Regions from separate parts of the Homo sapiens genome. Here all the other regions are linked to region 2. The links are contacts of gene promoters, found by promoter capture Hi-C in blood cells and fetal thymus (Javierre and others, 2016). All regions are on one chromosome and are shown on one strand. The core of a region is centred on a gene start or on the middle of the fragment in contact, and the rest is flanking DNA. Distances in the headings are between cores, read along the strand shown. Region 1 overlaps SIGLEC5 (sialic acid binding Ig like lectin 5). Region 2 holds the start of VSIG10L (V-set and immunoglobulin domain containing 10 like). Region 3 holds the start of LOC124904796 (small nucleolar RNA U13). Region 4 overlaps LOC105372448 (a long non-coding RNA gene).

What was found. Contacts are between HindIII fragments. The CHiCAGO score rates a contact against its expected background, and 5 or more counts as called.
Region 1: a contact is called between a fragment that was not itself captured here and the fragment with the promoter of VSIG10L in region 2, in 5 of 17 cell types (naive B cells, total B cells, megakaryocytes and 2 more). The highest score is 8.2, in naive B cells.
Region 3: a contact is called between a fragment that was not itself captured here and the fragment with the promoter of VSIG10L in region 2, in 5 of 17 cell types (naive B cells, total B cells, erythroblasts and 2 more). The highest score is 7.8, in naive B cells.
Region 4: a fragment that was not itself captured here is called in contact with the fragment with the promoter of VSIG10L in region 2 in 7 of 17 cell types (naive B cells, total B cells, activated CD4 T cells and 4 more); the score reaches 10.6 in naive B cells.

Annotation. Positions count from the first base shown.
Region 1 is chr19:51,613,197-51,616,296 of GRCh38, forward strand. The region is part of intron 8 of SIGLEC5 (sialic acid binding Ig like lectin 5); the gene reads right to left. LOC124904753 (a long non-coding RNA gene) reads left to right here. Exons shown (of 3, transcript XR_007067313.1): 2 at 633-853; 3 at 2,228-2,520. Among named protein-coding and RNA genes, the nearest start is that of SIGLEC5, 16 kb to the right of the region's middle. RefSeq lists a silencer at 2,471-2,620. The HindIII fragment of the contact is 7,305 bases long and covers 1-3,100 here.
Region 2 is chr19:51,338,858-51,346,692 of GRCh38, forward strand. It overlaps VSIG10L (V-set and immunoglobulin domain containing 10 like), which reads right to left and starts at 3,282. Exons shown (of 10, transcript NM_001163922.3): 1 at 3,228-3,282; 2 at 2,296-3,150; 3 at 1,576-1,869; 4 at 1,158-1,442; 5 at 31-285. The coding sequence starts at 3,267. It overlaps VSIG10L-AS1 (VSIG10L antisense RNA 1), which reads left to right and starts at 1,163. Exons shown (of 5, transcript NR_186316.1): 1 at 1,163-1,860; 2 at 2,209-2,317; 3 at 2,993-3,128; 4 at 4,831-4,954; 5 at 5,215-5,838. It overlaps ETFB (electron transfer flavoprotein subunit beta), which reads right to left. Exons shown (of 6, transcript NM_001985.3): 6 at 6,312-6,524. The coding sequence ends at 6,354. RefSeq lists silencers at 57-396, 1,047-1,316 and enhancers at 5,505-5,594, 5,725-5,824. The HindIII fragment of the contact is 2,004 bases long and covers 2,620-4,623 here.
Region 3 is chr19:51,667,996-51,675,365 of GRCh38, forward strand. LOC124904796 (small nucleolar RNA U13) reads left to right here and starts at 1,410; the gene lies at 1,410-1,513. The HindIII fragment of the contact is 5,735 bases long and covers 1,525-7,259 here.
Region 4 is chr19:51,774,703-51,782,502 of GRCh38, forward strand. LOC105372448 (a long non-coding RNA gene) reads right to left here. Exons shown (of 3, transcript XR_936049.2): 2 at 6,475-6,644; 3 at 4,997-5,279. Among named protein-coding and RNA genes, the nearest start is that of FPR3, 17 kb to the right of the region's middle. RefSeq lists a silencer at 3,114-3,408. The HindIII fragment of the contact is 271 bases long and covers 3,157-3,427 here.

The DNA.
Region 1 (3,100 bases), core at 7-2,506, 270 kb after region 2:
GGGGTCACAGGCTGGGCACTCAGGCAGCAGGTGGTGTGCCAGGATAAAGGAGTATTCTGTGAAAGTCACACTGTGAACATGATGGCCAGATCTCTGGGGTTCCCATTCAAGGCCGGGCTAGATTTTATGACCACTCCCCAAAGAGAGACCTCAACACCAAATAAGAGAAAAATACAACAAATGGTTCCCACAGGGAAGTTGGGCTGATGTGACATTTATCAATTCATCCTTTTATAATCCACTCCTCCTAAGGACAGGCCATAGGCTGCCTAGGTCAGGGTCTATGTCTGATTTCTCACACTGTACGTGCCCAGGAACCGGCACAGGGCAGACAGGGCTGGGTTCAAATCCCGGCCCCACCTGTCCATATACATTTCCTGTGAACTCAACTATTCGCTCATTCTTTCAAAATTTTGTAATACTATGATTGATCAGACCATATTGAGGACTTACTAATCACATTGAATCATCACCAAAAAAAAACCCACAACAGTATAAAAGATATTCTAATTATCCCCACCTTACACACAGGGAAACTGAGGTGGAGAGAGGTTAAGTAGCTTGCCCAGGGTTATTCATCTAATACATGGCGAGGCCAGGATTCGAACTCAGCCCTGTCTCCCCTGTTTCAGGTTCTGGGCACGTACAGTGTGAGAAATCAGACATAGACCCTGACCTAGGCAGGAGGAGCGGATTATTGATGAAGCAAATGTATACCTTCGGCATAGGTTACAAGGTGTCTTATGTGCAAACCAGAAAAGAGATGGCAATTCTGATCCTGGACCCAGTTTCCATGAAAGAGAAACAAAATGGAGCAGATCCTGTCCCCAGCAAAGATGGTAACCAGATACAAGTAAGCAATTTCTTTCCTCTCCCACCTTCACCCATATCCCTACCCATCACGCTATGGAAAATATGTTGAAAGCAACGTGAGTCTTCAAACAGTAGCTCAGAAGTTTTCTTTTTGAGACAGAGTTTCACTCTGTCATCCAGGCTGGAGGGCAGTGGTGTGATTTCGTCTCACTGCAACCTCCCGTCCCTGGCTCAAGCAATCCTCCCACCTCAGCTTCCTGAGTAGCTGAGACCACAGGCACAAGCCACCATGCCCAGCTAATTTTTGTAAAGACAGGGTTTCGCCACGTTACCCAGGTTGGTCTCAAACTCCTGGGCTAAGCGACTGGCCCAGCTTAGCCTTCCAGAGTGGTGGGATTACAGGTGTGAGCCACCACACCTGGCCATACAGTTTTTTTAAAAGGACTCCGCAGTTAGGGAAAAATGGCTTCATTGTGTCAGAAAAAAATAGACTTTCTGGAGAGAGCTGCTTATATTAGGCACAAGAAAGATGAAATAAAATGAAAAAGTGGCTATGCACACCAGCATTATGCAGGCAAAGGAAGAAATAAAGACATATGTCTATCAATAGGTGTGCGGTATATGAAATAAAAAGGGTGAAATTGACAACTGAAAGAAAAGGCACAGCTCAGATTAGTAAATAGGACAATGCAGTATGTTCACCCTTTCACTCAATAGCTCTTTGCTGAGTGCTTTCTTTGGGCTAGATGCCGTTCGTATAAATGAGGACATAAAGCAGACTGAAACCACCCAAATACCTCCCCGTCATGCAGTTCCTTGTTAGACAGAAGGAAAAGTAATACTGGGTAACAGTTATAAGTGAGCTCCCTGTGAGCTTGCCACTTTACTAAGCACTCCTTGTAACAATCCGAGACAGATACTAGCATATTAATAACCCAATTTCTATAGGAGAAAACAAAAAAACAGAGAGGTTCATTAGCTTATCCAAGGTCACACAGCTTGCAAGTGGGTGAATCTAGAACCTGAATGCAGGACGTCAAACTCCAGGGACCATGCTGTGCCTCGCTTTACCATTCTGCCTATGGCATGAAAGTGTGCAGAATGGTTAAAGGTAAAATAAAGGAGAAAACAAAGCTCTCTCTACCATAGTTCTTGTCAAAAGAGTGAATTCATACACCGGCTCTGTTCTCCAAGACCTACCAATGATGGAACTAAAGATGGAGCTCCTGGGTGAACAAAACTTTACAAATCAATTTATGATCAATCAATCACACTGATATCCCTAGGGGAAAGTTAAGGCTCATTTGAAGAAAAGGGGTGGGAGAACTGGGCGGGGGGACAGCTGGCTTGTTGAGAGGATGGGTTAGCCCAAACATACTTGAATTCTGCTCCTTTCTCTCCTCTACCCTTCCAGTGGGACAAACATTGTCTGCCCCTCACTGCAGAATTCAGAGTATGGACAGGATTATGATGTGCCAGTGTCCAACAGGCATGTGTTGGGTAAGCACCAGAGGCCCACTGGGGTGAGGAGAAGGAGAACGGAGGTGGAAGCTCACTGGTCTTTGACATTCTCCTTGCCATTTTCTCCACTCCAAACTCCCAGGGCTGGTGGATCACAATGCAACGAGAGTCCTTGACCAATGTTGCTTCTCCACGAGGGTCTGAAGATGGAGGGATGACTTAAGCTGCCTTACTGGGGTGATAGGAAGTGGGACTGGTTGGGTGTGGTTTGGGTTCTTGAGGGGATCCACCCTGGGGCTTGTCCCAGTCATTTCTCTTTTTTTGAGACGATGCTTCACTGTTGTTGCCCAGGCTGGAGTGCAATGGCATGATCTCGGCTCACTGCAACCTCCACCTCCCAGGTTCAAGAGATTCCCCTGCCTCAGCCTCCCGAGTAGCTGGGATTACAGGCATGTGCCACCACACCTGGCTAATTTTGTATTTTTAGTAGAGACGGAGTTTCTCCATGTTGGTTGGGCTGGCCTCAAACTCCCGACCTCAGGTGATCTGCCCACCTCGGCCTCCCAAAGTGCTGGGATTATAGGCGTGAGCCACCGTGCCCGGCGTCCCTGTCATTTCTTTGGCTCAGTAAGCCTGACACAGGCCAGCATCTGCCCTTCCCTCATTCAAGAAACACTGCCAGAGTAGCCAATAACCCCAGGGGAATGTGAGCTCACAGCTCAGAAGGCTGGGCACCTTTGAAGAAAAGCAAACCAACAGAACCTGATAGACCACTAGAAGCACAAGTACTAGGACGCTTTGGTCAAGAAGCTAAACTGAGCATATT
Region 2 (7,835 bases), core at 2,032-4,531:
AAACAGCAAAAAAGCCCCGCGCCCTCTCACCCGGCGTGACTGTGCAGGTACGCGTGGCCACCAGGTGGCGAGCAAGGCAGGTGATGGGGACGCCGCTGAGCCGGGGGTGGGCGGGGACGGCCGCCAGCAGCACAGAGGACACTGGCCCGGCGCGGATGCCTTCGGGGAGACCCTGGAACTGCAGGGAGGCAGCAGGGGCCCCGCCGGGCCACGAGCAGCGGAAGCGGAGGCTGCGGTCCCCGGGACCCCCTTCAACTGAGCACTGTGGGGCCCCGGGGGGCAGGTCTGCGGAGAGAAGGGAGAGAATGAAGATGGAGTCCCTTTCTCATTTCTTCTCCAGCCCCGCCTCCCCGCGCGGTGACTCCACCCTTCTTCACTAGCCCCACCCCATAGGCGCTCACACTCCCCACTTTTCCTGCGATCCCGTTCCCTTTTCCCATTAACTTCCTCGCTAAGTGGGTAGCCCGCAGCCCTGCTGACTGCCCAACTTTCTTAAGAAAACTGCATCTTCACACAATGATATTTCTCTTCCCAAACGTAACTCAGCCCCTTCCTTTCCAGCTCCACCCACTTCTGCCAGGTTACTTCGCCCCCTCCTGGATTGCACTCCGAGAAGCCTCCCCTTTTCCCAGATATCTCCGCCCTTCCTTGTGGACCCCTTCCCCTTTCTAAGACAATTCTGCCCGCTTTCTAAATGACCTCGCCCCTTTCCCTGGTGACTCCGCCCCCCTTGCCAGGTAACTTCTCCCTTTGCTGATCCCACTTAAGCAAATTAGTTCTTTCCTTTTCTAACTCCCACTCTTTGCCATTTAACTCCGCTTGTCGACTTTGTCGAGTGTTCCATGCCCAGGAATGTCCGCCCTCTCAGTGCTGGGCCGGCCCGTCAGTCCTGGTCATCCCTGCCACTCTATTTGGCTCCTTCCCTTATCCTCTTTCTGGCCCCGCCTCTTATCCTAGGTGTCTCCGCCCCTCCGCGCTGGCCCGCCCCACCACGGGTATCCCAGCTCCTTCTTGGTGACCCGCCCTCCCGCTGGCCCTGCCCCACCCACCGGTATGCTGCTCCTCCTTGCTGGCCCCGCCCCTTTCCTCTAGCCCCGCCCTCGTTCTGGCCCCGCCCCTCTCCCAGGCATTCCCCTACTCCCGCTCCAGCCTCTCACCCGCCACTGTAAGGTTGAGCAGCGAGCGGCGGCGGCGGCCGGTACGCGGGTTCGCCGCCAGGCAGGCGTAGGTGCCTGCGTGGCCCGGTCCGACCGCGGGCAGCAGGAGGCGCGACCCCGCGGGCACCGCGGCCTCGGCCGGGTCCGCCAGGCTCCACGTGATGTCGGCGGGCGGCCGCGAGGCGGCGGCGCAGCGCAAGGTCACGTTACTGCCCGCGGTGACAAAGCGGGCAGGCGCGGCGTCGCGGTCCGAGGAGACCGTGATGGTCGGCGGGTCCGGGCCGTCTGGAGGGAGGAGGGGTCGGGACCGCGAGTGTCAGGGTCACCTGGGACGCCGCTAGGACTCCCGGAGACTGGGTCCCCAGCCCGCTTCTCCCCAAGGACCCCCTGTCCCCGACCCGAGGCATCCCCCACTCACAGAAGACGCTGACGTCGGCGGCAGCCTCCCTGTGGCCGAAGGGGCTGCGGACGCGGCAAGTGTACCGGGCGTGGTCGCTGCGCACAGGGCGCACGATGAGCAGCTGGTCGCCCTCTGAGCGCATCCGGGGCGTCTCGGCTCCCTCCGATTCCGCCGCCTCCAGGGCGCGTCCGTCCCGGCTCCAGCTCAGCTCCCCGCGACCTGGCCCCCACCCCAGGCAGCGCAGCCGGAGCTCGGCCGCCCCCTCCTCTGTCTCTGGAGCCTTGGGCTGAACCGACAGCTGGGGTAGGGGCTCTGGGAGAGGGAGAATGGGCTCAGGACCCACCCAGTCCTGGAGCCCATCTTTGGTCCCCTTAGAGGGAACCCCAGCCGCTGCTCCCTCTAAGCCCCTGGAGTCTCAGCCCCCATCCCTCTCCTCTCATAAACCTATGAGTTTGAGCCCCCAGACACCTCCTCTCCGGGACCCAGGAGTTCGCCAGAAGAGGCTCCTAGCCTCCTCCTCCTCCCTCAGACCTGGGAGTTCAGGCTCCCAGGAGTCTCCATCCCAGGTCCACCTTTGCTCAGACACCCCTGCCTTGACCTCTAGCTCTTTTTCTCCCTTCCTCAACCCAGAAGTCCTCTTCTCCTATCCAGGGACCCCACAGCACCGTGACTTGCCCAAAGCCTGGCAGAGCAGAGCAGCCCCTGCCGCCTGCACGCCGGACGCCAGGGCCCACTTACCATACACACCCACCGTGAACTCGTGAGTCTGCTGGGAGACCCCTGCCCGGATGACCTCAGCCGTGTAGACCCCTGCATCGTCCAGCTGGGCAGAGGCGAGCTCCAGAACCCCCCGGGCCTGGTCAAATCGCAGGTGGTCTCGGTGAGCAGGGTCCAGGCTGATCAGAGGTGCCCCTGGCCCCAGGCCCCCAGCTGCCAGCACCTTTGAGCCCCGGCGCCAGACCACCAGAGAGGTGGGGGGCCCAGGGTTGGGGATTGGGACTAGGGGGAGCCGGATGGTGGTCCCCACCAGCACAGCGAGTGGGCCCCCCACCTGCTGGGGAAAGCTTGCAGCTGAGTGGGTCTCTGCAGAAAATTTGGATTCAGGGCTCTGGGCAGAGAGTTTAAGATCCATATCATCCGGGGAGAATTTTGAATCTGGGGCCTCAACAGACAGTTTGGTATGGGAGACTTGAGTAGAAATGTTTGAAGCTGGGGTCTTAACAGTGAAGGAAGGCTTGGGGTCTTTGGCAGGAACTTGAGGATCCGAAATATCAGGAAATACTTCAGAACCAGGGGTTTCAGAGAAGGGGGAAACCGGGCTCAAATCTTGGCCCTCAGCAGAAACATTTGACCAGAAGGACCCAGACATGTTGGAACTCAGGGCCTCAGGAAACCAGCTGGAATCAGAGATTCCAGCAGAGGCTTTTGAATCCAGGAACTGATCTGGAACTTTCCAGCTGGGAGGTTTGATGGAGGGAACTTCCACACCCAGCCCCTGGGAAGAGCTCTTTGAGTCTGAAGAGAAGGCAGAGGAGAAGTTGGTTTGCTGAAGTCCAGAAGAGGCTCTGAGGGTGAGGATCCCTACCAAGGAGGCTGCAGAGAAGAGAGGAAGGCATTGGGGGAGGCTGCTGAGGGAGACTGACAGGGAAGGGACTGAGCAGGGAACTTACCCAGGAGTAGGAAGAGTGGCAGAGCCTGTGGGTTGTCCATGGTGCTGGCCTCACTGAAAGGACACTGGAGAGAGACCCAGGACTGCACCCATCCCTCCCGGGTCAGACGAGTCCAACAGGACTGGTAGCTTAGCTTCCTGGGAGGGGAAGGGAGCCAGACCCAGAGGGAGGTGCCAAGATCCTCAACCCCAGTGTGGTGGCTGAGCTGCCCACCTCATCCCACTCTCTTCATTAGCTGGTCCCATCTGCAGAGAGGCCCAGCCTGATCCCTGCCCTCCCCACCCCCAGGGGGAAGCTGGAGAAAACATTCCCAGCTAAAAATGTGGGAGCAAATTTGTGAGACAAAGCCAGGAAGACTTCCTGGAGGAGGGTGAGGTGACCTTTCCGAGAGCCCCACCTCTGATGGCCACAGCTTCAGAGCAGGCTTCCTCCTCCCCAGCCTCCTGGCTCCTTCCACTCTGTCTTGCCTGCAGCCTCAGATACATCTGACCCTGCTCCTCCTCTGCTCCAAACCCTCCCACGGCTCTCTGTTGCCCTCAGAACCAAGTCTCCAGGTGCTATCTCCTGCCAGGGCCTCTATCCTGAGACCAGAGCTGCATTTCCGCATCCCCGAGGCCCTCACATGGCCTGTGTCCCGCTAAACTCAGACTCTTTCCTCTAACCCAAACTTCCTCACACCTCCAGGATGGCTTCACTGTCTTCGCAAATGCTGGAGAACATTCCCACCTCCTCCCTCCCTGTCACCACTGTCGATCTGAGTCCAACCCTCCTCCCCCTAGTTCTCACTGGCCAGGCTCTGTCTTCTCTTCCTGCCCCGTCTCCCTCCTCTGCCCAGTCTCCTCCATTCCCTGCCAGGGTCCTTCTATACCCAGAGCTGAACCTGCCTCCCCCTGCTCACAGCCCTCCCCTGGCTCCCCAGTGCCCTCTGGAGACATCCAAGGTTCAAAGCAAACTCATGCACAGCCCCCACTCAAGCACTTGAACATCCTGCCATTCTTATCCTGCCCGCCCATCTCACCTCCCAGTCCTCTACCTGGAATGCTCTCTCCCACTCTCCACCTCCCTCCAACCTGGCTAAACCACAACTTGTCCTTCAGGTCTCACCTTATTAAGAACCATAATTACCACTTAATTTGAGCCAGGAACTACGCTAAATGTTTCCTATGCACTATCAGGCTGAACACTTCTAAACACCCTATAAGCTGAGTGTCATTATACTCACTTTGCAGGCCAGGGGACTTAGGCTCAGAGAGGTCAAGGGACCTGCAGGAGGTTGCACAGCCAGAGGGAGAAGCTGGACTTGGGACCAGGATGGTCAGACCATTGACTCCTTCTGATAGCTTTTCCCACCATCCCATGTGGAGCTTAGGGCCTCTGCTCAGCTCCCAGTCCTCTAAGCTTACCCTGGCCCAGTTCTCACCAGTAATAATACTGGTAATATATATATATTTTGAGATGGAGTCTCGTTCTGTCACCCAGTGAGTGCCTCAGCTCACTGCAGGCTCCATCTCCCGGGTTCAAGTGATTCTCCCGTCTCAGCCTCTGCAGCAGCTGGGAGTATAGGTGTGCATCACCACACCAGGCTAATTTTTGTTATTTTTAGGAGAGATGGGGTTTTGCCATGTTGGCCAGGCTTATCATGAACTCCTGACCTCAAGTGATCTGCCCGCCTCAGCCTCCCAGTGTTGGGATTACAGGCGTGAGCCACCGTGCCCGGACTAATATTGGTAATAATATATATTTAGCATTTTTTGCATAGCAGGTGTGGTTATGGGGGTGCTACATAAATTAACCTTTCAAAACTCCATGGAGTAGATGATGTAGCTTAAAGAGGGCTGCAAATTTGAGCGTCCTCCTGTTAAGATGCGGGGTCTATGTCCCCTCTGCTTGGATCTGAGTAGCTGTGTGACTGCTGGACCAAGACGTGGAAGTGGCCCTGTGCCAGGATCTGCATCTAGGCCGGCATATGCCACTTTCTGTATCATAGGACACTCCCTCATGGAATCCAGCCGCCACACTGCGAGGATCAGCAGCCCCATGGAGGGGAATCATGGCCCCTGGTCAGCAGCCCCAGCCAGCTTGCTGGCTATGTGGGTGAGCCCTCTTGGAAGTCAATCCCCTGGCCCCATTTGAGGCACATGAACTGATCCTGAACTGGATCCAGGAATGGATCCAGTGGGATTTGACCCAGGGCCCTGGGACCCAGAACCCATACCCTTAACCTCTACATGATGCTGTTACTATTTTCATCTGCAGATGAGGCAACTGAAACTCAAAATAGGAAGGAACTCACCCAAGATCTAGCTGGCAAAGGTAAGAGTGAGCATATGAAATCAATATATCTGACTCTATCAGAAGGCCAGAGGAATGGAACACAATTTTTTAAATAAAAAATTAGTCCAGGCGCTGTGGCTCACGCTTGTAATCCCAGCACTTTGAGAGGCTGAGGCGGGCGGATCACTTGAGGTCAGGAGTTCAAGACAGCCTGGGCAACATGGTGAAACCCCGTCTCTACTAAAAGTACAAAAATTAGCCGGGTGTGGTGGTGCAAGCCTGGGCAACAGAGCGAGACTCTGTCTCAAAAAACATAATTAAAAAAAAATTAACCTGACTGTAGACCCAGGCTGTTCATTGCAACGCTAAGTTTTGATTCTCTGTGGCTTGTCTGTCTCACACCAGAACCACAGCTTCTGGCCTCATTCTCTCCTGTGTCCCTGCTGAGACTGGGGACACAAGAGAGAATGAGTGTCCTGCAAACATCGTGGATAAAAGCCCTTCTTCTCACCCACCTCACTGATATTTGTGTTCCAACACTCAACTTGGAAGTCATCTCCCTGGGAAATCTCTGACCCCACCGGCTGGGCCAGGCCAGGTCCCCCAGTTGGGTTCCCAAGGGCCCAGTGTGCCTCCACGTCTAGCATACTTCACCCCGAATTACAGCTGCCTTTGTCCTCATTGTCCCCCGCATCAATACAGAGGCTCCTCATGGGCAGGGACTGGATCCACAGGGCCTGGCACACAAAAGACTCAAGTAAATGTTGAATGAACCAAATAATGGGTCTCTAGGAAATAAGTTAACAGAGATAGATGTTGAGAGTCAGTTTTATTGCCATCTCTGGGAGGGGCTCAAATCCGCCCAATCTCCTTCAGCTTGGCCACCAGGTCCTCAGTGGTCTCCACCTTGACGCCGGCCGTGCGCTGGGGCGGGTCCTCCACACTGATCACAGAGAGCTTGGAGGTCAGGTCCACACCCAGGTCCCCAGGCTTGATCACCTCGATCTTCTTCTTCTTGGCTTTCTGCACATGGGAAGCCATTGTTCACAGGGCTGTGGAACTCCTGCCACCCTTCCTGCCACCTCCTTCCCATGGGTGCCAGGCCTGCAGACCAGTCCCATGGGCTGAACCCTCTGGACCCACCCACTGGCCAGGACACGCGAAACTTCTCACAGGGCCACACCTGGTGTGGACAACTCCTGCTGGCTAGGAGGCCCTGGGAGGCCCAACTACTGCAGCAGTCCTCCTTTAGGTAACCAAATCAGGAAGCCCTTCACTGGCTGCAACAGAGTGGCAAACCCATCCTTTTGGTAGTAATGACTCAGTGGACTTTTGGTTGAGATGGCATGCTGAAGGCTCCCAATAGGCTGAGATGATGCACTGAACCCTCCCTATAGACTGAGATGATGCGCTGAACCCTCCCTATAGGCTGAGATGATGCGCTGAACCCTCCCTATAGGCTGAGATGATGCGCTGAACCCTCCCTATAGGCTGAGATGATGCGCTGAACCCTCCCTATAGGCTGAGATGATGCGCTGAACCCTCCCTATAGGCTGAGATGATGCGCTGAACCCTCCCTATAGACTGAGATGATGCGCAGAACCCTCCCTATAGGCTGAGATGATGCGCTGAACCCTCCCTATAGGCTGAGATGATGCGCTGAACCCTCCCTATAGGCTGAGATGATGCGCTGAACCCTGCCTATAGACTGAGATGATGCGCTGAACCCTCCCTATAGGCTGAGATGATGCGCAGAACCCTCCCTATAGGTTGAGATGATGCGCTGAACCCTCCCTATAGACTGAGATGATGTGCTGAACCCTCCCTATAGACTGAGATGATGCGCAGAACCCTCCCTATAGGTTGAGATGATGCGCTGAACCCTCCCTATAGGCTGAGATGATGCGCTGAACCCTCCCTATAGGCTGAGATGATGTAGTGAACACTCTGTAATGGCTGAAATGACTCATTGAACCCTCCCCATTAGTTGAGATGATCCAGTGAACCCTCCCTGTTGGCTGAGATGAATATTCTCTATTGGCGGAGATGACCCACTAAACTGTTAATATTGGCCAAGATGACCCAGCGAACCCATCTACTGGCCATGATGATTAGTGAACTCTACCTGTTAGCCAAGAGACCCCATGCACCCTTCCTAGTTAACTAAGATGATCTACATGGTAACTTCACATTGGCAAAAATTACCAAGGGGACCCTCCCTAATGAACCTAGATGACCCAGTGAACTTGTTCCACTGGCTGGAATGACAAAGGGAACACCTTCTGCTGCCCAGCGAAGGCTTTCTACTGGCCTAGATACCAGCAAGCCCTCCCT
Region 3 (7,370 bases), core at 3,142-5,641, 330 kb after region 2:
TGAGACTCTGTCTCAAAAGAAAAGGTCGGGGAGGGGTTTATCATTGTTATTTAAAATAAATATATAAATATTTTGAAAATAATTCTCATTGAATGAAGATTATAAGGGAACTATAAATGTAACTAGAAAAATATTAGACAATTCAATAGAAAAATTCACTAATGATCTGAGTTTATACCTTAGTCCATTCAGGCTGCTGTTAAGAAAGTAGCACAAATAAACAAAATACCACTTCGAAACAAGAGAAATTTATTTCTCACTATTCTGGAGGCTGGGAAGTCCAAGATCAAGTCACTGGCAGATTAGGTGTCTGGTAAGGGCCCACTTCCTGGTTTGTAGAAATGAGGACTTCTGGCTGTGTCCTCACATGTTGAAGGGGAACTCTGGGGCCTTTTTCTTAAAGGTCCCAGTCCCATTCATGAGGGCTTTACTCTCATTGCTTCATCACCTCTGAAATGCCTCATCTCCTAATATTATCACATTGTGATTCAATTTCAACATATGAGTAGAGAGGGACACACACATTAATAGCAGCAAACTTCACAAAAAGAAAATCCGAATGACCACGAATTATATAAAAGGATTCTGAATAATTTATTATTTTTAAAACATATGGTGAAATTAGCAGTATTGCACCAATATTCATCTCCCGGTTTTGAACATTATGCTGTGGTTATATAAGAGAGTAACTTTAGGGAAGTTCAGTGAAGGGTTTGCAGGAATTTGCTGTACCATTTTTACAACTTTTCAAAACACTAAAATTAGCTCGGCATAAACAGTTAAAAATGTGGAGGAGTCAAATTTTAACATTTTACATTAGAGTATGGGAACAATGATTTCTCAGTACTTTTAGCTGTTACCTTTTTCTCTGTTCACCTTACTGCGCAGTTCTGGTACTAAATAGATGCTCACTTTGCCAGCAAAAGGTCCTAGTGTTGGCTGGGTGCGGTGGCTCACACCTGTGATCCCAGCACTTTGGGAGGCTGAGGCAGGCAGATCACGAGGTCAGGAGTTTGAGACCAGCCTGGCCAATATGGTGAAACCCTGTCTCTACTAAAAATACAAAAATTAGCCAGGCGTGGTGGCGTGTGCCTGTAGTCCCAGCTACACAGGAGGCTGAGGCAGAAGAATCGCTTGAACCCAGGAGGCGGAGGTTGCAGTGAGCTGAGATCATGCCACACTATACTCCAGCCTGGGCGACAGAGCAAGACTCTGACTCAAAAAAAAAAAAAAGGTCCTAGTTTTAGTGATGTTGCCAAGTTATTAAGGTTCCTTCCTCACTAATCGAAACTAATACAAGGAAAGGATTACTTCCTCTTTGGGAAATCTGGTCAAGCTGATGATCCAATTTAATTAAAACAATACCACAAATTGAATCTTTGTTTACTGCTTGAAAAGCTACTTTCTAGATCCTTTTGTAGTTCATAAGTGTGAGGACTGGGTTTTCAGGCTCGTGTATAAGATGTGCCTCCCTCACTCCTTGTTACAACATCGGCATATTACTCATCTGAATGGAAAAAAAAAAGCTTCTGAATAGTTTCAGAAGTAGATGTTAAGATTCATCTTAAAGTAGTCATATAGGTCAAGAAATGAAACATACACAATATTTCAGAATCCCCTGCATGTGGCTTCCCCAGTAATAATCCATGCCTCCCTCCAGAAGTCAGTAACATTCTAACTTTTTGATAATTTTGCGCTCACTTTTCTTTTTATTGCTATTAGTTATGTAGTTTTCTTTTTCTTTTCTTTTTTTTTTTTTGAGATGGAGTTTCACTTTTGTTGCCCAGGCTGGAGTGCAATAGTGCGATCTTGGCTCACCGCAATCTCCGCCTCTTGGGTTCAAATGATTCTCCTGCCTCAGCCTCCTGAGTAGCTGGGATTACAGGCATGCACCACCATGACCAGCTAATTTTGTATTTTTAGTAGAGAAGGGGTTTCTCCATGTTGGTCAGGCTGGTCTCCAACTCCTGACCTCAGGTGATCTGCCTGCCTTGTGCCTCCCAAAGTTCTGGGATTACAGGCATGAGCCACTGTGCCCAGCATAATAGTTTTCTTTTAGCTATTTTTAAGATTACATATTTACATGTATGGAACAAGATTCCATGTGTTCATTTGATTTTGCAAATTTTTATAATATCACATTGATGACAATATTCTATGTATTCATATAGCTGTATTTCATTTTTTCATTGCTGAATAGTATTCCATTATGTGGATATACCACACTTCATCGATCCACTTGCCTTGTAAGTGGGAGCTAAATGATGAGAACACATAGAGGGGAACAACACACACTGGGGCCTACTGGAGGGTGGAGGGTGGGAGGAGGGAGAGGATCAGGAAACATAACTAACGAATACTAGGTTTAATACTTGGGTGATGAAGTAATCTGTATAACAAACCACCAGGACACAAGTTTGCCTATGCAACAAACCTGCACATATACCCCAAACTTAAAATAAAAGTTTTAAAAAAGTGTATTCAAGAGTTGAGATTTAGCACAATTAATAGCTTTTACTGTTTCATCAAGTGCAATCTTAAATGAAGCTGGAATTTTCCTTAACAGTGAGTGTGAAGTGATAAAGAATACAACTTTCTAGCACAATTTAGTGCTATTACCTTGCTTCCGGCTAAGGTTACAGCCCTTTTATGTACCATTGCTTTTGCACCAGCAATGTAATGTCAACACAGAGAAAAACGCAAATAACATCTGTGTATTATTACTAAAATAGTTTTGACCTTGAAGATGCCCCCTGAAAGAATCTTGGTATCTCCTAGTAGAACCCTGTCTCTAGAGGATGCATCTTAGAGGAACTTCTGTATATATGTCAGTATGCCTGTGTACAGATGCTCCTTAACTTATGGTGGAGTTTCATCCTGATAAATCTGTCATAAATTGAAAATATAGTAAGTCAGAAGTAATTTTCTACTTAATATTTTCCATGTATGATGGGATTATACTGAATGTGTACTCAGTATACTGAGTACTGAATGTGTATGGCTTTTGCACTATCGTAAAGATGAAAAATTATAACTTGAATCATCATAAGTCAGGGATGGTCTGTATGTAAGTGTGTGTATATATCTCCTACTTCAGTAGATAATGCTAAAAAATTTTCCCAAACAATTGCATGAATTTACACTCCCAAAAGTGTACAATATGAGAGTTACCATTGCCCCACATCCTTGCCAACCCTTGGTACTTTCCATTTTTAGCAATCTGATGAGTATGTAATGGTATCCACTATGACACTGATTGGTTTCTACCTCTAAAGAGGTCGAGGACCTTTTCTTATACAATTGGAGTTCATTGGATTTTCTTCTTGTAAAGTCACTTTTGAAGTGATTGGCCAATTTTGCTATTGGATTGCCTGATTTTTTTTTCTAATTGGATTTGTATATTCCTCAGTTGATGAGAATTGTTATGGATAAAGGTAGAATTTCATCAGACTCATTTCCACCTTCCATGGGATGGTCATATTATGTTTTTTTCTTGTATTTGAGCTTGTGATAAATACACTAAATGAGTTTCTAATGTTAAACCACCCTTGCATTCCTGACATAAACACATCTTGGCTATGATGCATTATCATATTTATATCTAGCTCTATTTAATTTGCAAACTCTGGCTTAATATTTGTGCCACTATATGCCTAATTAAGATTTGCCTATACTTTTATTTTTTTATATTGTTGAGTTTGGGTATTAATTTTATAATTAGCCACAGAAAATGAGCAAGAGTTTGAATAGGAATAGAGTAATTTCTTCCTTAAGTTTTGGTACAATTTGCTGGTATACTTAAAGTTTAGCCATCTTGACCTAAAGTTTGCTTGGTGAGATGATTTTTACTACTGATTCTTCCGAATAGTTTTAGAACTATTCAGGTTTTCTACTTGTTTTCTGAGGCTATTATACTAAATTACATATTTTTATTAATTTATCCATTAATCTAAATGTCAAAGTATGTGAAATTGTTCAAAATATTATCGTATATTCTCAATGTCTGCAACATCAGTGGTTATGTCCTTTATTTCTGACATTAGTTACATGTGCCTTCTCTCTTTTCATTGTATTTAGACTCCCCAGAGGTTTATCAATTTTATTACTTTTTCACCAAACAAGTTAGGGCTTTGTTGATTCTGTTGTATGCATTTTAAAACATGTATTATTTAGTACTTATTTTATTATTTTCTTATGTCTACTTTCTTGAGTTTTTTTATCTCTTGAGAAGAAAGATCGAATTCAGTTTATCTTATTTCAATTCCAGTAATATGATTTTAAGCTATTCATATCTGTCTTAGTCCATTTAGTCTTGCTAAAAAAGCAATACCTGATGCTGGGTAATTTATACAGAAAAGAGGTGTATTTGGCTCACAGTTCTGCAGGCTGTATAGAAAGCATGGAACCAGCATCTGCTTCTGGTGAGGCCTCAGGCCGCTTCTACTCATGGCAGAAGGTAAAGGGGAGCCACCACGTGCAAAGATCACATGAGGAGAGAGAAAGCAAGAGATAGGGACAGTGCAGGTGGCAGGTTCTTTTTAACAACCGCTCTTGTAAGAATTAATAGAGCAAGAACTCACCCATTACCAAGAGGACAGTACCAAGCCATTCATGAGGCACCCACTCCCATAACCCAAACATCTCCCATTAGGTTCCATCTCTAATACTGGATAAAATTTCTTAATTTTCTTTTTTTTTTTTTTTTTTTTATTATACTCTAAGTTTTAGGGAACATGTGCACATTGTGCAGGTTAGTTACATATGTATACATGTGCCATGCTGGTGCGCTGCACCCACTAATGTGTCATCTAGCATTAGGTATATCTCCCAATGCTATCCCTCCCCCCTCCCCCGACCCCACCACAGTCCCCAGAGTGTGATATTCCCCTTCCTGTGTCCATGTGATCTCATTGTTCAATTCCCACCTATGAGTGAGAATATGCGGTGTTTGGTTTTTTGTTCTTGCGATAGTTTACTGAGAATGATGGTTTCCAATTTCATCCATGTCCCTACAAAGGATATGAACTCATCATTTTTTATGGCTGCACAGTATTCCATGGTGTATATGTGCCACATTTTCTTAATCCAGTCTATCATTGTTGGACATTTGGGTTGGTTCCAAGTCTTTGCTATTGTGAATAGTGCCGCAATAAACATACGTGTGCATGTGTCTTTATAGCAGCATGATTTATACTCATTTGGGTATATACCCAGTAATGGGATGGCTGGGTCAAATGGTATTTCTAGTTCTAGATCCCTGAGGAATCACCACACTGACTTCCACAATGGTTGAACTAGTTTACAGTCCCACCAACAGTGTAAAAGTGTTCCTATTTCTCCGCATCCTCTCCAGCACCTGTTGTTTCCTGACTTTTTAATGATTGCCATTCTAACTGGTGTGAGATGATATCTCATAGTGGTTTTGATTTGCATTTCTCTGATGGCCAGTGATGATGAGCATTTCTTCATGTGTTTTTTGGCTGCATAAATGTCTTCTTTTGAGAAGTGTCTGTTCATGTCCTTCGCCCACTTTTTGATGGGGTTGTTTGTTTTTTTCTTGTAAATTTGTTTGAGTTCATTGTAGATTCTGGATATTAGCCCTTTGTCAGATGAGTAGGTTGCGAAAATTTTCTCCCATGTTGTAGGTTGCCTGTTCACTCTGATGGTAGTTTCTTTTGCTGTGCAGAAGCTCTTTAGTTTAATTAGATCCCATTTGTCAATTTTGTCTTTTGTTGCCATTGCTTTTGGTGTTTTGGACATGAAGTCCTTGCCCACGCCTATGTCCTGAGATTCAATGCCATCCCCATCAAGCTACCAATGACTTTCTTCACAGAATTGGAAAAAACTACTTTAAAGTTCATATGGAACCAAAAAAGAGCCCGCATTGCCAAGTCAATCCTAAGCCAAAAGAACAAAGCTGGAGGCATCACACTACCTGACTTCAAACTATACTACAAGGCTACAGTAACCAAAACAGCATGGTACTGGTACCAAAACAGAGATATAGATCAATGGAACAGAACAGAGCCCTCAGAAATAATGCCGCATATCTACAACTATCTGATCTTTGACAAACCTGAGAAAAACAAGCAATGGGGAAAGGATTCCCTATTTAATAAATGGTGCTGGGAAAACTGGCTAGCCATATGTAGAAAGCTGAAACTGGATCCCTTCCTTACACCTTATACAAAAATCAATTCAAGATGGATTAAAGATTTAAACGTTAAACCTAAAACCATAAAAACCCTAGAAGAAAACCTAGGCATAATTTTCAACCTTTCAAGAGTTCAATAATATTTTTGTTTCAGATCTCCATCTTAACAACAAAGTGATCAGAAAATATACTTTTTGTGATATAAATCCCTTAAACTGTGTTGAGATTTTCTCAATGGCTCAGTCTCTGATCAAGTTGTACAAATATTCTGTGTGTGCTTTAATAATGCATGTATTGTTGCTGTTGTGAGTGTACTGTTTTGTCTTTTGTTTAAGTCAATTTGTTGATGATGTTGTGTAGATTTTCTTCATCTTCACTGACTTTTTTCATGTTTAATTTACTCATTAATGAAAGAGATATGTTAAAAAATTTCCCACTATGATTATGAATTTGGACATTTTCTGTAGTTCTGACAACTTTGGATTTATATATTTTGAGGCTGCATTATTTAGTGCATACTAATTAGGTTTTTAAATGTTCTGATGAAATTATTATCATTGTGATATGATCATCATTACTGGTAAGTATTTTGCCTAAACACTTTGCCTAAATAAATTTTACTTTAGCTGATGTCAATATATCTACCCAGGTTTATTTTGGTTAGTATTTGCTGCATTATATATAAATTTTCATCTTTTTTCTTTGACATTCCTGTATCACTATGTTTTAGATGTGTCTCTTGTAAATGGCATACAGTTGGATTTCTTTTGGCGCAGTCTAGCAAACTGATTTTAACTGAAGCCTTACATTACACTTAATGCAATTACTAATATATTTGAATTTAAATCTATTATTTTTGTACCTGCTTTGTGTTCTGCGTTTTTTTTTTTTTGTTTTTTTGGTTTTTTTTTTTTTTGCCTTTTCAATGATTCCTTTTTTCCTCTTTCTGGCCTACATTTGGACTGCTGGAGTAATTTCTATTCTTCTTAGTTCATTTCTTTCCCACAAGTTTAAAAGTTTTGCACTCTATTGCTAAGTTTATTAGTTATTCTTTAAAAAACATATAATACACAGTTAATAAAGTCTAAAGTTAGTGACCTTTTAAAGCTTCTCCAATATAAGATAGGACATTAGAACCCTTTACTCAGTTTGCACATTCCAATATATTACTATTTTCTTATTTTACATGTGTCTTATACTTAAGCCTCTTACTCAT
Region 4 (7,800 bases), core at 2,042-4,541, 440 kb after region 2:
ACGGACTCAAGTGATCCCCCCACTTCATCCTCCCAAGTAGCTAGGACTGCAGGTATGCACCACTATGCCCAGCTAATCATTTATTTTCTGTAGAAATGGGGGTCTCACTTTGTTGCCTAGGCTGGTCTCAAATTCCTGGGCTCAAGTGATCCTCCCACCTCAGCCTCCCAAAGTGCTGGGATTACAGGTGTGAGCCACCATGCCCAGCCAGAAATTTTCAATTTTAATAAGAATTGCCTTCTTGATTCTTTCTTTCACGGATTATATCTTTTGTTTTGTAATTACAAAGTCATTGTCAAACCAAACGTCATCTAGATTTTCTCCTATGTTATCTTCTAGGTGTTTTATAGTTTTGTCTTTTACATTTAGGTCTGCGATCCATTTTAAGTTAATTTTAGCAAAGCATGTAAGGTCTGTTTCTAAAGTTACTTTTTTGCACATGGATGTCTAGTCATTCCAGAACCATTTGTTGAAAAGACTATCTTTTCTCCATTGAATTGCCTTTGCTCCTTTGATAAAGATCACTTGACAATATTAATGTGAGTCTATTTCTGGGCTCTCTTATTCAGTTCCATTGATCTATTTGTCTGTTCTTTTGCCTGTAGTACACTGTCTTGGTTACTGTAGCTTTACAGTATGTCTTGAAATCAGATGGTGTCAGTCCTCCAACTTTGCTCTTCTTGTTCAATATTATGTTGGCTATACTGGGTCTTTTCCCTGTCCATGTAAACTTTAGAATCAGTTTGTTATATCCACAGAATAAATTGCTGGAATTTTTATTGGGATTGTACTGAATCCAAAGATCAAATTGAGGAAAACTGACATCTTGACAATCTTGAATCTTCCTAGCCCTGTACATGGACTATCTCTCAATTTCTTCAGTTCTTCTATAATTTCTTTCATCAGAGTGTTGTAGTTTTTCTCATATAGATCTTGTACATATTTTGTTAGATTTTTACTCAGTGTTTCATTTCTGAGGGACATAATGTAAATAGTATTGTGTTTTTAATTTCAAATTCCATTTGCTCACTGTTGGTATCTAGGAAAGTGATTGATTTTTTTGTACTCTGCAACCCTGCTATAATCACTTATTACTTCCAGGAATGTTTGTTATCCAATCTTTTGGATTTTCTGCATAGATGATCATGTCAGTTGTGAACAAAATAGTTTTTTTTTCTTCCTTTCCAATATGCATACCTTTTTAGTTTGTTTTTAATTGAATTAGCTAAGACTTCAGCAATGCTGAAAACCAATATGAGAGAAGACGTCCTTGCCTTGTTCCTGGCCTTACTGGGAAAGCGTCAAGTTTCCCACTGTTAAGTATAATGTTAGCTGTAGGATTTTTTGTAGGCATTGTTTATCAGATTGAGGAAGTTCCTCTTTATTCCCAGGTTACTGAGCATTTTTAAAAATTATGAATGAGTGTTGAATTTTGTCAAATACTTTTTCTGCTTCTACTGATATAACTATGTGGTTTTTTCATTAGTCTGTTGATGTAATTGATTACATTAATTAATTTTTGAAATTTGAACTAGACTTGCATACCTGGCATGAATAATTTTTATACTTTGTTTTATACATTACATTATAGTAGTTTAGACATTTTTGGGTTTGATTTCCTAATATGTTTTTGAGAATTTTTGCATCTATGTTCATGAGAGTTATTGGTCTGTAGTTTTGTTTTCTTGTAATGTCTTTAAATGGATTTGGTTATTAGGGTGATCGTGGATTTATCATGAGTTAGAAAGTCCTCCTTCTGTGTCTGTATTCTCAAAGTTCCTCATTCTTTTTAATTTTTGCATTGTATTTTATTGGATGAATGTAACAAAATTTAATCTGACCAAATTGCTTTTGATCTTTTGCTCATTACAAAAAAAAAGCTACAATGAATACCTGTGCACACACACATTCCTTTGCATGACTGTGTGTTTGTCTATAGAAAAAAATTACAATAGTTTGTAACCTAAGTGTCTATCAACAGATGAATGAACAAAAAAAAATTGTTCATATACATAATGGAGTACTATTCTGCCATGAAAAATAATGAGACTCTGTCATTTGCAACAACATGGATGGAACTGGAGGTCATTATGTTAAGTGAAATGGATCAGGCACAGAAAGACAAACTTTGTATGTTCTCACTTATTTGTGGGAGCTAAAAATCAAAACAATTGAACTCATGGAGATAGAGAATAGAAGGATGGTTACCAGAAATTGGGAAGGGTGGCAGGAGTCGGGGGAGAAGTGGGGATGGTTAATGCGTACAAAAAGAACAGAAAGAATGAATGAAACCTAGTATTCAAAGGCACAATAGAGTGAATATAGTCAATGATAAGTTAATTATATATTTTTTAAAAACTAAAAGAGTATAACTGGATTCTTTATAATCCAAAGGACGAATATTTGAGGGAATGGATACTCTATTTTCTATGATGTGATTATTACACATTGCATGCCTGATATCAAAGTATCTCATGTACCCCATAAATATATACAACTACTATGTACTATGTACCGACAAAAATTAAAAATTAAAAAAAGTAATACTAAAAAAGATCGTTTGTAATTTAGTTGATTTCTCTGCTCTTATCTACTATCAGAGCTATAAAGCCCATTGCCACATCTTAGGAAGACAACTTTTCTGAAAAACAAATAGTGATCTATTTCTTGACATGAGTGGGAGTACATGAGCATTTTGTTTTACACAAATATATTAATCTTCACGTTTATCTTTTTCTCATTGTGTGTGTTTGTGTGTGGGGTGGTTGTTATAGTCCACATTTTAAAAGCTAAGAGAAATAAGTCAGCTGGATGTAGCGGCTCATGCCTGTAACCCCACCACTTTGGGAGGCCGAGGTGGGCGAATTGCTTGGGCCCAGGAGTTCGAGACCAGCCTGGGAAACATAGTGAGACCTCGTCTCTACTGAAAATACAAAAATTACCTGGGCTTGGTGGTGCGTGCCTGTAGATCCAGCTGAAGGACTGGGGCTGAGGTGGGAGGATAGCTTGAGCCCGGGAGGCGAAGGCGGCAGTGAGCTATGATTGTGGCACTGCACTCCAGCCTGGGTGACACAGCGAGACCTTGTTTCAAATAAAAGAGGAAAAAACGAAAAATAAGTCAATCGAATTCGGGTCCCCTTTTCTTTATACCAGTAAAGCTTCATAGCTCCTGAAATTAGGCTGCTTGAAGCAGGACACCTTTCATATAGGTGCTGCAATTCTCTAAATTCATACTTGCTAGGACAGGGAGGGTCAAAGGCAGCAGGAGGAAGCCATCCCCGGCATGACTGGCTCGGGTCTCCTGGGCTCGTGAAAACGAACTCATTAGACATCGAGCTCCCTCTTGTGGCAGCTAAAAGAAAACACAAGGAAATGCAACTCTTGCTTCACTCAGTTCTGTGACCGCATTGGGAGATAACCCTTGGAAAGCTTGATTATTTGTGGGCTAGCTCGCCCAGAATACATTTCTAAGCACATCTGTACAAGTAACTTTGTTCTTTCAATGCAGAAAGTCCCCTTCATTCCAAAATGTACATTCCAGAGACGGTGGAGGCTAGAGATCTCTCCTGTATCTCATCCCATTCTATGAGTTACCAGTGCCATTAGACGAAAGAAAGTCCATGTAAATGCTTAGGATGCTGGCGACTGTTCAACTGTGATTCCATTCTATCTTTCCATCTCATGCCTCCTGCGGCTCCAAACACCATCTAGTTAACTGCGTCCCGAATGTTGACCTACACTGATGCTGTTTCATCAGAGTCAATTGGGGAGGTGTTTGTTTGTTTGTTTGTTTGTTTTAATATGGGTTAGGTCACTGCAACATCAAAGCATCTTGATTTATAAAGTTTGGAGCAGAGCACAATAATCTGTGTTTAATCACAGATTAACTTTGTTCCCTTTAGGTATTCCCTGGTAAATTGTAATGTGCAATCAGATTCCCCTGTTTTCTTTTTTTGTTTTGTTTTGTTTTTGAGTCAGGGTCTTGCTCTATGGTCAAGGCTGGAGTGCAGTGGTGCAATCATAGCTCACTGAAGCCTCAACCTCACCAGCTCAAGCGATCATCCCACCTCTGTCTCCCGAGTAGGTGGGACCACAGGAACATGCCACCACACGGGGCTTATTTCTGTGTGAGCCACTGCGCCCAGCAATGATTCCCCTGCTTTCTAGCAGTTGAATAAATACTCTTTTAACTAGAGGACATAATAAGAACTAATATTAGACCATGAGAATTAGAACTAATATTACCTCTTGGAAACACGGATATATCTTTATGGTCCACACCATAGAACAAATGGTCTTTTTTATATGCGGTGGTAACACAGCCATTGGGAGGGAAACATGGGGAGAAGTCCTAGTTAGGAAAGCAAATTTGGAGAGTGAGGCTGTGATCGTGAAATCACAGGTGTGGACAAGCTAAGCTGTCAATACTTTGTTCTTCTGAAAGAAGAGGTTCTCAGCAACAGTGAACAGAATTAATAATTTATCAGAAAAAAGTCCCCCATGCCCTTTACACCTCAATTCTTACCACAAATAGCAAACCAACTAAATCTGGATCTGATTTTTGTATGTACACACAAAGCACATAACAGTTACTGAGAAACACAGTGAAAGAGGAAGGACAACCTCTGATACAAAAAGAGCCAATATCGCCTCCAAAAACTATGTCCCTTACTCTCCCTCCCTCAGGTCCTAACACTAACTTCCTGTCCCAATTTGTAGGGAAGTAGGTGCTCAATGGTTCCTCTTGCCCAGTGTGTTCTCTTCCAGTTGAAATGGCAATCTAGGCATAAAGTTTGGAAGATAGAGTCAAAGAATTAACTACTAATGATGGAGATTTTGTGAGACCCACACAGAGTTGGGAGGCTTGCTGGTTGATAAAACTCCTGGCAATTCATAATGTTTCACCTATTCTAAGTCACACTTGAGCTAATATTATACCAGGTTGTCCCTGTGTTAGTTATCTATTGCTGCAGGCAAATCACCCTCAAAACATGGCTTAAAACAATAGTAATCTAATTTACTATCTGTTACAATTTCTCTGGGTCAGGAATTTGGAAGTTTCTGGCTTGAGTGTTTCTGGATTGAAATCTCTCATGAGTTTGTAGTCAGATGTGAGCTGAGGCTGCAATTATCTGAAGGCTTGACTGAGGCTAGAAAATTCACTTCCAGGTGACATAATCCCATAGATAATGAGTTGTTGCTGGAAAGTTGCTTCCTCACCACAGAACTGCTGGAGTAGTCTCATAACGTGGCTGATGGTATCTCCCAGGATGAGTGATCTGAGGGGGAAAGCGTTAAATGGAAGTTTCATTCTTTTTATGAACTACACTTGGAAGGGATATAGCATTACTTCTGCCATACTCCATTGGTCAGGGCAGTCACAAGTCCTGGTCCAGATTGAAGAGGAGGGGGAAAAAATCCTCACTTCTCTGTGGAAGGAGTGGGAGGAGTGTGAATTACCTGTACAGACAACATGTGGGATGAGATAAATATGTAACATAGATATCAGTGGAAAATATAGTCTGCCACTGTCTCTAGAGATCATTCTAGATAGTCAAATCACGGTAAACATTTTACCAGTCACGATGGGTATCTAGACTATGGGAATAGGAATGTAATTTCAAGCCCAGTTTTAAGAAAGGGCAAGATTTTAAAAATTTATATAGGTTATGCTGTTGTACATCAAGTACAATTTCTTCCCAGTTGGCACCTCCTATCCCGTTCTTGTTACAGTCAAAAAACCATAAGAGGAAGTAGATACATTCAGAGAAATCTAGTTTCTATCCTTGATCATTCTAACATGTTTCCTGCTTCTACAGTTTCAGTGGCAGGAACAGAAGCTGTTCCTGGGATCAGCAACATGGACTTTGACTTGCCAAGGCCAATCTGGCTACACTCACTGCTGAGTGCCCAATCTGCCCACAGCAGAGATGGACACTGAGTCCCTGATATGGCACCATTCCCTGGGTAATCACCCAGCTCCCCAGTGGCAGGTTGAACACACTGGACCACTTCCCTTGTGGGAGAAGCAGAGCCTCGTTTTTATCGGGATAGATGTTAACTCTGAACATGAATGTGCTTTCTCTGTACATAATGCTTCTGCCAAAACTATCATCTGTGGACTTACAGAATGCCTTGTCCATCATCATGGCATTCCATACAGCATTGGTTTGATTGTGGGATTAAATTCACAGCAAATAAACTGTGGCAATGGGTCCACACTCTGGAATTCACTGGTCCTACCATATTGTCCATTTTGAGTAGCCGGCTTGAAGGAATGGTAGGATGACCTTTTGAAGACTTACCCAAGTACCAGCTAGCAGGCAATACCTTGCAGGGCTGGAGCAATATCCTTTAGGAAGCTATACATACTCTAAATCAGCACTCAGTGTATGGTGCTCTCTCTCCCATAACTAGAATCCAAGGATCCAGGAATGAAGGGGTAGAAATGGGAATTGTATCACTCATTATTACCTTTAGTGATCCACTAGAAAAATTTCTGCTTCCCATCCTCATGACCTTATGCTGTGTTGGCTCAGAGGTCTTGGTTCCAAAGGAAGAAATGTATCCACCCAGCGACACAACAATGTTTCTACTGAACTGGAAGGTACCACTGCCCATCACTACTTTGGGCTCCTCTTGCTCTGAATCAGCAGGCAAAGAAGGGAGTTACTGTATGGATGGGGTGACTGATCCTGGCTACTAAGAAGGAAATTGGTATGCTACTATATTATATAGAGATAATGAAGAACATGTCTGGAATATGACAGACCCATTAGGGCAGCTCTGAGTACCACCTTGTTTTGTTATTAAAGTCCATGTAAAACCACAGCTCTATCAAGCAGGACTGTAATGCCCCAGATCTTTCAGGAATGAAGGTTTGGGTTTCCCCACTAGGCACAGATGATGACCAACTGAGGTACTAGTTGAGGGAAAATGGAAAATGGATTGAGGAGTGAAAGATGGTAGTTATAAATACTACCATGATCGCAGAATCAGTTACAGAAGTGAAGACTATCATTTTAATGAATATTTCTTATTTTGTCATGAACAAATTTGTGTGTTTCAAAAATTTTTGTTTTCTTTCCTCTTTTGTCTCATTATCACATAACATAAAATGTATTAATAATAGGTAATTTTAAATCATGGTGTTTATATTAGAGGAGATCAAAAAGAAGAGAGAAGGCTGGGTGTGGTGGCTCACGCCTATAATCCCAGCACTTTGGGAGGCCAAGGCGGGTAGGTCACTTGAGGTCAGTAGTTTGAGAACAGCCTGGCCAATGTGATAAAACCCCGTCTCCACTAAAAACATAAAAAGTAGCCTGGTGTGGTGCTGTGCACCTATAATCCCAGCTACTTGGGATGCTGAGGCAGGAGAATCCCTTGAACTCAGGATGCGGAGGTTGCAGTGAGGTGACATTGCACCACTGCACTGCAGCCTGGACAAAGAAAAAGAAGAAGAGGAAGAGGAAGAGGAGGAGGAGGAGAAGTATAGGAGGAGGAGGAGGGGAAGGGGAAGAGGAAGACGAAGGAGAAGGAGGAGAAGAAGAAACATCACCCAAGGACTCTGCATCCTCTTCTGGAGAAAGAGTCAGTGCATTTTTGGCTATAAGGAAGATAGGTGTATCATGTTAGGAGGAAGGAGGACTTTGTTCTTACCTTTCTTTGGAAAATAAACATGATTTAAGGAAACGTGTATGGGTGACTGGATGACAAGAATGGACTGTGAGGGTTAGCTTTGTGTGTCAATGCGGCTAGGCTATAGTGTCCTCCTCATCAAAAATTATTATAGATGTTGCA